4 separate regions of the Homo sapiens genome follow, and regions 1, 2 and 3 are each linked to region 4. The links are contacts of gene promoters, found by promoter capture Hi-C in human tissues and cell types (Jung and others, 2019). All regions are on one chromosome and are shown on one strand. The core of a region is centred on a gene start or on the middle of the fragment in contact, and the rest is flanking DNA. Distances in the headings are between cores, read along the strand shown. Region 1 has its middle 2.4 kb from the start of LINC01638. Region 2 has its middle 25 kb from the start of LINC02554. Region 3 has its middle 21 kb from the start of LINC01638. Region 4 holds the start of MN1 (MN1 proto-oncogene, transcriptional regulator).

The links. The method cuts DNA at HindIII sites, captures the fragments that hold promoters and counts their contacts. A contact is called where the count stands out against the background at its distance.
Region 1: a contact is called between a fragment that was not itself captured here and the fragment with the promoter of MN1 in region 4, in 1 of the 25 tissues and cell types used here (dorsolateral prefrontal cortex).
Region 2: a fragment that was not itself captured here is called in contact with the fragment with the promoter of MN1 in region 4 in 4 of the 25 tissues and cell types used here (H1 embryonic stem cells, IMR-90 fibroblasts, lymphoblastoid cells and 1 more).
Region 3: a fragment that was not itself captured here is called in contact with the fragment with the promoter of MN1 in region 4 in 1 of the 25 tissues and cell types used here (mesenchymal stem cells).

What each region holds. Positions count from the first base shown.
Region 1 is chr22:27,225,694-27,228,393 of GRCh38, reverse strand. No RefSeq gene overlaps it. Among named protein-coding and RNA genes, the nearest start is that of LINC01638, 2.4 kb to the right of the region's middle. RefSeq lists an enhancer at 787-1,986. The HindIII fragment of the contact is 4,081 bases long and covers 1-2,700 here.
Region 2 is chr22:27,284,480-27,287,179 of GRCh38, reverse strand. No RefSeq gene overlaps it. Among named protein-coding and RNA genes, the nearest start is that of LINC02554, 25 kb to the left of the region's middle. The HindIII fragment of the contact is 5,633 bases long and covers 1-2,700 here.
Region 3 is chr22:27,202,259-27,204,958 of GRCh38, reverse strand. No RefSeq gene overlaps it. Among named protein-coding and RNA genes, the nearest start is that of LINC01638, 21 kb to the left of the region's middle. The HindIII fragment of the contact is 5,933 bases long and covers 1-2,700 here.
Region 4 is chr22:27,800,459-27,803,158 of GRCh38, reverse strand. MN1 (MN1 proto-oncogene, transcriptional regulator) reads left to right here and starts at 1,403. Exons shown (of 2, transcript NM_002430.3): 1 at 1,403-2,700. The coding sequence starts at 2,616. The HindIII fragment of the contact is 23,630 bases long and covers 1-2,700 here.

The sequences.
Region 1 (2,700 bases), core at 48-2,547, 570 kb after region 4:
ACATAATGTAATAAAAAAGACTGATAAATCTGAATGCATAACCATTTTGTAACAAACATCGAAAGTGAAGTCAAAAGAGAAGCTGGAAGAAAACATTTTTAATCTATGTCACAGATAAGTAGTTGATGTCCTTAATACATAAAGAGTTCTTAAAAATCAAGAATAAAGACCAAAAACTCAGTTTTTAAAAATAAGGAAAAAACGTGATTAGATGGTTCACAGAAAGAGATGTATAAATGGACCTCAAAATGTGAAAAGGTGTTCAACTCCATGCACAAGAGAAATGCAAATTAAAGCTACCCAAACATAGTATTTCTTACCTCTTAGACTGACAAAAGGTGAAAGCTTGACCACATACTCTGTTGGAACATGGCGACAATGTAGGGAAACAGATTATCTCATACATTGCTGGTGGAAATGCAAATGGGGTATTTGAAAATATCTAACAATATCACATATGTGTTTACCTTTTAGCCCTTCAATCCTACATTTTGGAATTTACCTAAAAATATACTTCTGCAAGCCCAGAACAACAAATGCATGTGGTTATTCATTATATCATTTGTAGTAGCAAAATATTAGAAACAACCTAAATGCCTACTCATAGGAGACCAGTTGAACAAACTGTGAATCTTCTGGATAATGAAGTACTAAGCAGCTACAAAAAAATTGAGGATAACTGTTACGAATGAAAATGATTTCTAAATCTTTTTTTGCTTTAAATGAAAAAGCAAAGTGCAAGCGAGTACCTATGGTATGTTCTCTTTTATCTAAAAAATATGGAAAGCTAAAAATACATGAATATAGAGTCATAGAAGTAAAAACTGGCAGGATTCACTTATGGGTAAAAGTGACTATAGAGAGTAATTGGGGGCAGGGTGTGGTGGCTCACGCCTGTAATGCCAGCACTTTGGGAGGCCGAGACGGGTGGATCACAAGGTCAGGAGATCAAGACCATCCTGGCTAACACAATGAAACTCCATATCTACTAAAAATACAAAAAATTAGCCGGGCATGGTGGCGGGCGCCTGTAGTCCCAGCTACTCAGGAGGCTGAGGCAGGAGAAGGATGGCATGAACTGGGGAGGCGGAACTTGCAGTGAGCCGAGATCACGCCACTGCACTCCAGCCTGGGTGACAGAGCGAGACTCCGTCTCAAAAAAATAAGTAAATAAATAAATTAAAATTAAAATTTAAAAATTTAAAAAAGAAGGTAATTGGGAATGGGGTGACAGCATGGAGATAAGAATGAGACTGCTCTTGGGACTTCTTTGTCTATAATTTATACTCTTGAATCATATAAATATTTTACAGATTCAAAGATGAAATTTAATCAAAGATGTTGAAAAAGACACCAAACCCTAAAATTGAAGGCAAATAGAAACAAACAAGCCTAACTACACATCACGTTGATAACTCTGCTAGGCAGGCTTCTAAAGTGGCCCCCATTGATGCTCACTTCCGGATACTCCAGCATTTTGTTTAATCCTTTTCCCTTGAACGTTGGCTGGACCTGGTGACTCACTTCTAATGAATGAAATATGGAAAAAGTAATGAGATGTTACTCCTGACAATTAGGTTCCAAAGGGGTGTGACTTCTATCTTGTTGGTATTCTGTCTCCCTGGTGCTTCTCATGTGCTGAGCTTGATAGAGAAGGTGACCTGGCAAGGAACTGAAGGACATCTGGCAATGTACTGAGTGAGGAACTGGGGCCCACAGTCCAGCAGTCTCCAAGGAATCAAATCCCACAACAGCCATGTGAGTGAGCATGGAAGTAGATCTTCCCCGGTCAAGCCCCCAGAAGGACCCAGCCCTGCGGACACCTTGACCGAAACCTGTGAGAGCTCCGGAAATAGAGGAACCAGGTAAGCCACACCTGGATCCAGAGAAACTGTGAGACAAGAAATGTTGTTGCTTTAAGCCACTAAGTTCTGGGGTAGTTTGTTAAGCAACAATCAATAATAATACAAATGTAACCATGTAGGAAGGGAATCAGCTCAAATAACCTTTGAACACTGTTCTCTAACTGTGCTCTCAATTAAATACACTCTAAGGACAACAAGAACTTCAAAGAAACCTTGAACTTGAATGAATAGATAGTTGTTGATAGTAGGATCAGTGTAATTCTGAAACCATTGAGCAAATATGTTGATATTGGGGGAAATGGGGTTCTCACCGTGAAATCAGAGAGATATGATATGGAATGAGGGAATTGTGAGAAAGAACTTTGTGATGTTGGATTTAATTTGGAGGCATCAGAATGAACTCAAGTGTGTCTTCTATTTACTGAAAGAAACTAGAAATAGCAATACCTTTGTAGTAACAAGCACACCTAGAACATGTATTTTGGCTTTTATTTTATTTTATTCATTTTTGAGATAGTATCTCACTCTGTCACTCAGGCTGGAGTGCAATGGCATGATCTTGGCCCACTGCAGCCTTGACCTCCTGGGCTCAAGTGATCCTCCCACTTCAACCTCCTGAGTAGCTGTGACTATAAGCATGCGCCACCATGCCTGGCTAATTTTTGTATTTTTCTTGGTGGAGATGGGGTTTTGTCATTTTGCCCAGGCTGGTCTGGAACTCCTGGGCTCAAGTGATTCTCCTGCCTTGATATCACGGCTTTTAAATACCATTTTCCATTGAAAGGGATCAGGTCATCTTGGAGAAATGGATGGTTTAAGGATTTGAACAAGGAAA
Region 2 (2,700 bases), core at 82-2,581, 520 kb after region 4:
ACAAAAGTTTTGTTTCTTTCTAAACTTTGGCAATTTCAGCATCTGCCTATTTAGGTAAATTAGACAAGGATTATCTCTTTTATCTTCCCTCTTCTTTGTTTTTTTTTCCCCTCCAAACCCAGAAATTCCATGAGAAATATTTTTAAGAGTGTTAACTGACAAATGTACACATGCCGTCCGCAGCCAGAGAGCAAGCAGCACAGTCGCTAACTTGTTAGACAGGAGCTAGATTACAATCATAAATAAATGATTTGCTGTCTCCTCGCATTCAGACTTGTAGCTTTTAAAGTGTGCCTGTCATCGCAGAATCAGATTTAGTCAAATGCTGTGTAACTGCAAAATTATCCTATCCTTACCTTTTTATTCTCCTTATAATGGACAGTTAAATTGGATTTTCAAATTTGAAGTGCATATGTTTTTCAAATCCCCAGAGGCTGTCTATTTTTTCATTTCTAAAGCAACTCACTAATGTTTATCATTACCACACAGAAATATTACAATTCTTAAGGGGCGCCTTACAAAATCAGTGCAGGAGAAATGTGCTTTATCGTCTCAAAATGAAACCAATTTCTCAGCTGATTTGCAATTTATTTACATGTTAGCATTTGATTTCCGGCTGATTTATAACCCCACACAGCTCTGTCTCAGGGTTTATTTAGAAAGCAGACAACAGTGGTCGGGGAAGGCTGTGGAGCGCAGCGTGGCATGGGATGTCTGTTTCCCCAGGCTGGAGGCCACAGTGCCACTCCCAAGTCTCCTGGTTGAGTTTCACCTTCAGCGAATCCAGTGCCCCATTGTGTGTGAATATGCAGGATGCTAGGCCCAGCCACTGCGTGGAGATCAGATGCTGAAGGACAGCTTTTCAGAAGGAATATTTTTGCTCCTCTGCAGTGAACGGGGATTGTGGTAGGGGAAGTGGAAAAGACGCCTGGGATATACTGGGCTTTCATTCTTTGGCTCATTCACATAACTCTAATGGCTAATGTGACATCTGAATTCAGGAAGTATTGGAATTGACAGTGAGGACTTTATTGGGGTTTATTGCTTCATCTGTCTGACCATTTATTCATTGATCCACTCTTCCAGACATCTCTCTAGCCATTCCTCCATTTATCCGTCCATGTGCCCATTCATTTTCCCATCTACCTACCAATCTATCCACTTATCCATCATCCATTCATCCATTCATCTACTGACCCACTTATCCATCCATCCATTTGCCCATCCACTTATCCACCTGTCAATCCATCCACATACCCATCATTCATCTATCCATCTGTCCATTTTCCCATTCACTTACCCATCCACCAACCTATCCACTTATTCATCATTCATTCGCCTATCCATATATCCATTCATCCATTCACCCACTGACCAGTTCATCCACCCATCCATCCAACCATCCACCCACCCACCCACCTATCCACCCATCTGACTACAAATCCATCCAACCATCCATTCCACACTTATCAATATAGGCCTTTGCACTGAGTACTAGGGAATTAGAGATGACCAAGAAACTGCTCACAAAACTCTTGGATAAGAGGAGGAGACAAACATACACCTGCCAGGATCATTGTGAAGCTCAAATTACTTAATGCATATAAAAAGTGCTTCACAAACTATAAATCTCTTAAAAATATAACATATATGTAAATGCCGTAATGAGTTTAGAGCAGCCTGCTTCCTTCTATCTAGCTGTGGAACCACAGGTAAACAACTTCCTCTTCCGAAGCCTTGGTTTCCTCATCTATAAAATGGGAAGGGAGGTAATAATTAATAATAATAATTAATAATAATACTAATACCCCTGGCAGGGGCCTTGGCAGAATCTGATGAGATAACCCATATAGAGCACTTAGCCTAGTGTCAGGCCATAGTTAGCACCTGATACACTTTCTTCTTCTTACTATTCTGATTGTTGCATGAATAATAGGGACAAAGGAGGAAGAGAAATTCTGTCAAACTGAAAAGATGAGGAAAGATGTTACCAAAGAAACAATATCTGAGCTGGGTTTATAGAAGAGGGAAGCTTTCCTCAGGTACCAGAAGGGAAGAGCATGGCCAGCAGAGAGAGCAGCTTGCACAGAAGTCTGAAGGTGCAACTGAGGATTCAACAAAAGGTGAGGGAGATGTGGCAGGAGCATGGGACCCATGGGCACAAGGAGAGAAGGTACGTGTGTTGAAGTAGATCTCAAAGGCCTTGCATTTTAGGATATTGAACTTGGGTTTTCTTTTCCCCCCCCTGGGGATGACAGGAAGCCAATGGAAGGCCTTCATCAAGGACATGGCCCCATCCAATTGGCACCTCAGGGGGCTCCATCCTGCAGACAACAAAGGTGGAGGCAGGGAGCCTGGACGGGAGCTGGAGAAACAGCTCCTTGGAGAGCAAAGGAGGCAGGAGACAGTGCGCTGGTGCAGGGCTGGTGAGAAGGGGCAGATTTGAGAGATGAGTTTTTAAGCAGAATCAGCCAGGATGTGGGGACCAATTGGAGAGAAGAAGGGGGGATAATGAAGGTTTCACCGAGATCTCCAGGAGAACCCTATCAGAGGCAAAATCCCTGAGACGGAGATGAATTTTCCTCCTCACTTTGCCTCTATCTGCCCATGCCATGCAGCGCTTCTCTGAATACATTTGCATATATTTATGCTGCAGGCAGCCAGCGCTAAAAGGAGCATCTCCCTCTCTCTCTTTTTCTC
Region 3 (2,700 bases), core at 184-2,683, 600 kb after region 4:
AAAATAGAAGGAGGGAATCATGCCCCCCAAGTACACCCATCTCTTTTGAAAAGTCTGCTCATAAATCCCACCTAACAACCTTTGCTTGTGCCGCATTGGCAACTCTATATCTAAGGGAGACAGAGAATAAAATATTTTAGCTCAGCGTATTAGCACCTCAGATAAAATAAGGGGCCTGTCGCTATGGAGAAAGGGAAGAATGGACTTGGGATAGGAGAGTACCAGTGGCTGCCACACTCTATTTTTGTTTTCTAACTTGTATAATTCCAAGCAAAGAATGCCTTTTGAAATGGGGTATTGGTCAAAACGGTATGTGGAATGGGAAACTTTAGCCTGTTAGCTCTGGATAATCAGACCTCAGTTAAATCAGATTTCACTTAATCTACTGAACTTAACGAGGCATCACATGAGTACACAAGAAGGTAGTCTGCTTTGCATAAGCCAGATTTTTGAAATCACCATTAAATGAGCATCTATTACAATTACTGAAGGCATCAGAAAGAGAGAAAGGTTTTCACTGCATATTGCCTGCCTCCCTCATTGCCAGTGAGTGATTGCCCATTGGCCTGTGAAGGGCTGGAGTCTAGTGTCCACTCACGTGTGAGTCTGGCACTGATGCAGTGGGCTGGACCTTGCGGAGGCCACTGTGCTTTCATCTGCTACGTGATGAGGCAGCTCTTCCATCACATACTACTCTTAGAACACCAGCAGAATCTTCATTGGAACCACGCTGTGAGATCCTTTGGATTTTACTCAATAATCTCACAACTGCGAAAGCAAATATCAACTCAGGCACTGAAGTCACATGGAAGCCCTTTGTTCTAAGATGATCTCCCAGGTTAGAAGGCAATTAGAACCCTTTTCCGGGTTATGGTAGAAATGAGAAAACCAAAGCAAGTAGACAAGTGAATACATTGGGGTGTGTTCGTGGGTCCAAGTTTGAGACATGATGGCTTCTGCCACCAGGTAGATGGTTTTCAAAGGGCATCTATGTCCATGAGTCTGTGTGATTCCCTTACAGGAGCCCTGGAAGCAGATGGAAGGGTTATTTCAATTGAGAGGTGAAGGACTTGTCCGTCAGAGAGGACAAGCTACCTGGTGAAGGTCCCACAATTTATGAAGGTCTGAGCTGAGAGTCACCCTTGCTCTGTCCTGGAGCTGTGTAGGGCTGGGCTCTGAAGCCTTCTGCAATATTGCAGCTGAGGCCCCCAAAGTGGCGCCACCATTCCTGTGGCCCCCAGAAGCAGAGGAGACACCCTAGGCTCCTAAGACCCAAAAGCATCTTAGAGAAGATCTAGATCCAACTACCCATTACACAGATGTGGGAAGTGAGCCACTGGTGGGTGAGAAGCCAGTGAGTCAGTAAGACAGCAACAAAGATGGGGGCTGTTTCCAAAGGCCAAGTCCATGGCAGAAACCCAGCAGTTTCAGGGCACGCAGGGCCACAGCAAAATCCTATTCAAGGATTTGCTGCTGCAATGAAAATGCTTATTATTGCCGTCACTACTACTAGCAGTTCATGCCTAGTAGAGTCAGCTCTCAATAACTATCTCTGGCTCCTCCTCACTCTTGTTATTCAGCAGACTTATTAGCACAGTGCCTGGCCCTATTATTATTATTATTATTGTTCACCAGCTACTCTGGCTCCAAGAAGTGCTCCAAAAATAAATTGATTGAATGAATGAATGAGTGATTCTAGCAGAGTTCCCAGAGCGCCTACTCTGCCCCGCTTGGCCCGGCCGCCTCCCCACACCAGATCACTGTCTGCCTCCTTGTGATATGAAGCTGCCTTTCCCATCACCAGCACGAACTGGACTCCTAATCCACTGTTCTTTGGTTTAAGAGTCATTACAAAGTGCTTAATTAAGTAAGCCTCGCTTAATCACCAAATGTTTGCATGCGAAACAAGTTCCCGGGAAGCAGGGCACTTGACATGTTCTGCACAGAAATAATTACGCCGAGGAGGGGGAGGGCCGCGGGCTGGGACTGGGAGCCTCCACATTTCATTTGAGGGCCTCACCCATTCATCACCGAAGGGGAATTAAAAGGCTTTAGCTGGAGCAATTCGAGAACTCCCACATTCCTGCTGGATGAATCACGGGAGTGGGGCCGCTGTCTGGGTTTCCAAAGGCGCAGAGCAAGGGGAGAGGTGGGAATTCGAGAGGCGAGTTGGGGGCTGGTGGGGCCCCGGGGAGGGGTGCTCTCGGGGACACAGGGGAGCTCTGCCTCCCCACAGCCCATGTGATAACAATCCCTCCCTGGCTCAGTCTTTGGCCTGCGTGTTCCAAGTGCTGCCTTAGATAGTTTCAATTGCCCTCTCTCTCTTATTTCAGGAGGAGGTTTGCAAATTGTATATGAATTTGCAGAATACATTGGTGGTGGCGGCGGTGGTGGTGGTGGTGGTTAGTGGAGTGTGTGTGTGTGTGTGTGTGTGTGTGTGTGTGTGTTTGTAGGCTATCATTTAATTTCTTCCTAATCCTGTACTTCCCACAGAGCACTGGATTAGTTGGTACAAGAATGAACTTACCTTTCTTATCTCAATGGCTTTTTGTCTATATTCATATGTATTAGAAAAAAAAAACATACAGAATCAGCACCTCATTCTCTGATTTCAAGGGTATTATCAAATCAAAGTTGGTATAAAGGAAAAAAAATAAATCTTCCAAGGTAGAACAAGGATGTGAACTAAATCAGGAAGGA
Region 4 (2,700 bases), core at 154-2,653:
GTAATTTAGCAAACGCTAGACAGACTCGGGCGATAAACACTTTCTTTTGTGGGGGGGGAAAGGCATTTTCATACACCACGCTTAATTTTATTTAGATTTAATAGCGATATCAGGGGCACTTCAAAGAAAGTTCTTTTTTCGCCCTTCTCCTAAGAATGCGAATCTGCTAGCAAAATCGCCTCGTGCTATTTTATGGCAAGGAAAATTAAAGGCCTTCTCCCCCCTCCTTCCCTACACACACTTTAGGGAGGAACACACACACACACACACACGCATGCACAAACACACGCACGCAGGCGCGAGCACACGCACACAGGCGCACAGAATAAACACCTCTATCCTCCATCACCTCTAACTTCCAACTTCTAATTGCAAGATAGATTTCAGCCTCTGTGGGGATCAGGACGATCTAAACATTTTAACTAAGATTATTGGGATAAATATTTCATAAAGAGCAGGGCAGATATTAAATTACTCCTATTGATTTTAGTATCACAGCCCAATTCCATTCCTCGGCCTCTTCAGTTTAATTGATCTCTTAAGGAGGCCAACTTCGCACCCGCAGAGGGTCTGGGTCTTGGACCGGGTGGCCCAGGGCAAGGTGTGCGGCCCGGCGGGTGCGCCCTCTTCGTGCGTGTCTTCTCGGGGTTCCCAGCCGCCTCGCAAGTCGCTCCGGTTACTGGGCTCAACCGATGTGCTCCCCCATAAAGTGGCTGAGTGACTGTGACTCCTTGGAGCCCACGCCGGCCGGTGAGAACCGGGAACCCCAGGCAGTGGGGAAGGGGAACAATTGTGAACGCCCTAGTGACGGAGGAGTGAGCAAGCGCCCAGGTCTCTCGAGGAGAACCCTAACTTCGAGGTTCCCCGTCTGCTTTACCCTCCAAGAAAATCCCAGGGCCGGCTAACTTGGGCGCCGCTAGCGGAGAACGGAGTGTTCACCCCGGAGCCGAAGTGCAGTAGACACTTAGCGACTTTCCGTGGCGAGTCTAGGGTCTTTGCCTGGCGACCTCATTGTCTGAGCGCCCCGTACCGCTCACCGCCCACCTCCCCGCCCCCTGCCCACCCGGTGGGTCTCGCTCCAGTTGGGGGTGGGGAGTTGGGAACAGTGTGAATGGGAAGGGGGTGAACAAAGCCAAGCTCCCGCCATTCTCCTCCGCCTGCACCCTCTCCAGCTCGATGCGCCCGGAGGCCGGGGCGCGCCCCCAGCGCACTGACGCCGGACCCCGAGGAGAGGCGGGCGCAGGGGACCCCAGAGCTGGGGTAGTGCGGGTTCGTGGCGGGGGCTTCGGCAGCCAGGACCCCGGACCACCTTAAGAGCGAGCCCCGCCCCGAGCCCGGAACTTGGGCGGCGCTGATTGGTGCAAATGTAATGGCTGAAATTGATTGCTGAAATGCAAAACTTGTTGCTGCTTCTCCCGGCGCTGGGCGAGAGGCAGACACAGAGAGGGGAGCCGAGACCCTCGGAACGCCCCACGCAGAGCCCCCCCGCTAGTCGGGAGAGGGGTGCGCAGACCCCCCAGAGCTGCCCCCGCGCCCCCCTCCCCCCATTCCGGGCTCTGAGAGCGCAGCGGGAACGCCTTAGCCTGCTCGCCCGGCGTGGCCCCCCGACCCGCGTACGCCCCCCTCCCTCAGGTCCGAGAGGGACTCGCGAAGCACCTCAGCGCGGAGGCAGGGAACCGGAGCCTTGGAGCGACCCAACCCCTCGTCTCGCTGCCCTCCCGCGCCTGCAACGGTGCGCGGAGACTCCGGCGAACTCAGACACCCAACGGCGGAGAACAGAAGCGGCAGGCGGCGGACGTGGCCGCGAAGCTGCGCGCCGAACGCAGCGCACCCGCTGCCGAGCAGAGGAGCCGCGCCTTTCCCCGACCCTCGGCTCCAGCCCCCGGCGCCTGCCGCCTCGCAGCCCCTCTGCGTCCTCGGCTCGGGGGCCGGCACCGGCGATGCCGAGCGGAGCCTCCAGTCCTCCGACCCGCTGAAGAAGCAGCAGCCGCTCGCCCGGAGCCTACGGGGATTGTGCGAGCGGATCGTGCTCGGTGGAGGCTCGGGCTGCGGGGCGCGGGGACTCCGGGGGGCGGGGGGAGGGACCGCTCTGTCGGTGCCCGGCGCCAGCCGCGGCTTTGAAGGGTCTCCCTCCCCTGCCCTTAGCAGCTCTGCCACGGACTCCGGGAGGCTGCGGGCGGCGTCCTGAGGGCTCCCCAGCAGACCCAATCGGACTTGAGAAGGTGATCGCTCTGCTCTCCCAACCCCCTTCCCTCCCCATTCCCCCCACTTAACTTTTTGTCTCCGTTCATCCGCGGCTTCGTCCCCTCCCCGCAGACCCACCCGCGGCTGTGACAACCGCCCGGGGCATGGGCCCCCCAACACGGCTCCTAGAGGCCCCGCGGCCTCGCAAGATGTGAGAGGCCCTCCCCGGGCAGAATCGGAGCTTCAGGAGAGGAGCTAATACCCCGCCCCCCGTCCCTCACATCAGGCGGGGTGGAGGTGCGCGCTGAGCCCCCGCGGTGCTGAGCGTCCCGGAGCGCCCAATCCTGGGCTGGAACGAGTAGCTGGCCGGAGGCGCGCCGCGGAGAGCCGGCTGTCATGCCCTATTGATCCCCCTCTGCCCCCCGCCAAGTATGTTTGGGCTGGACCAATTCGAGCCCCAGGTCAACAGCAGGAACGCTGGCCAGGGCGAGAGGAACTTTAACGAGACCGGACTGA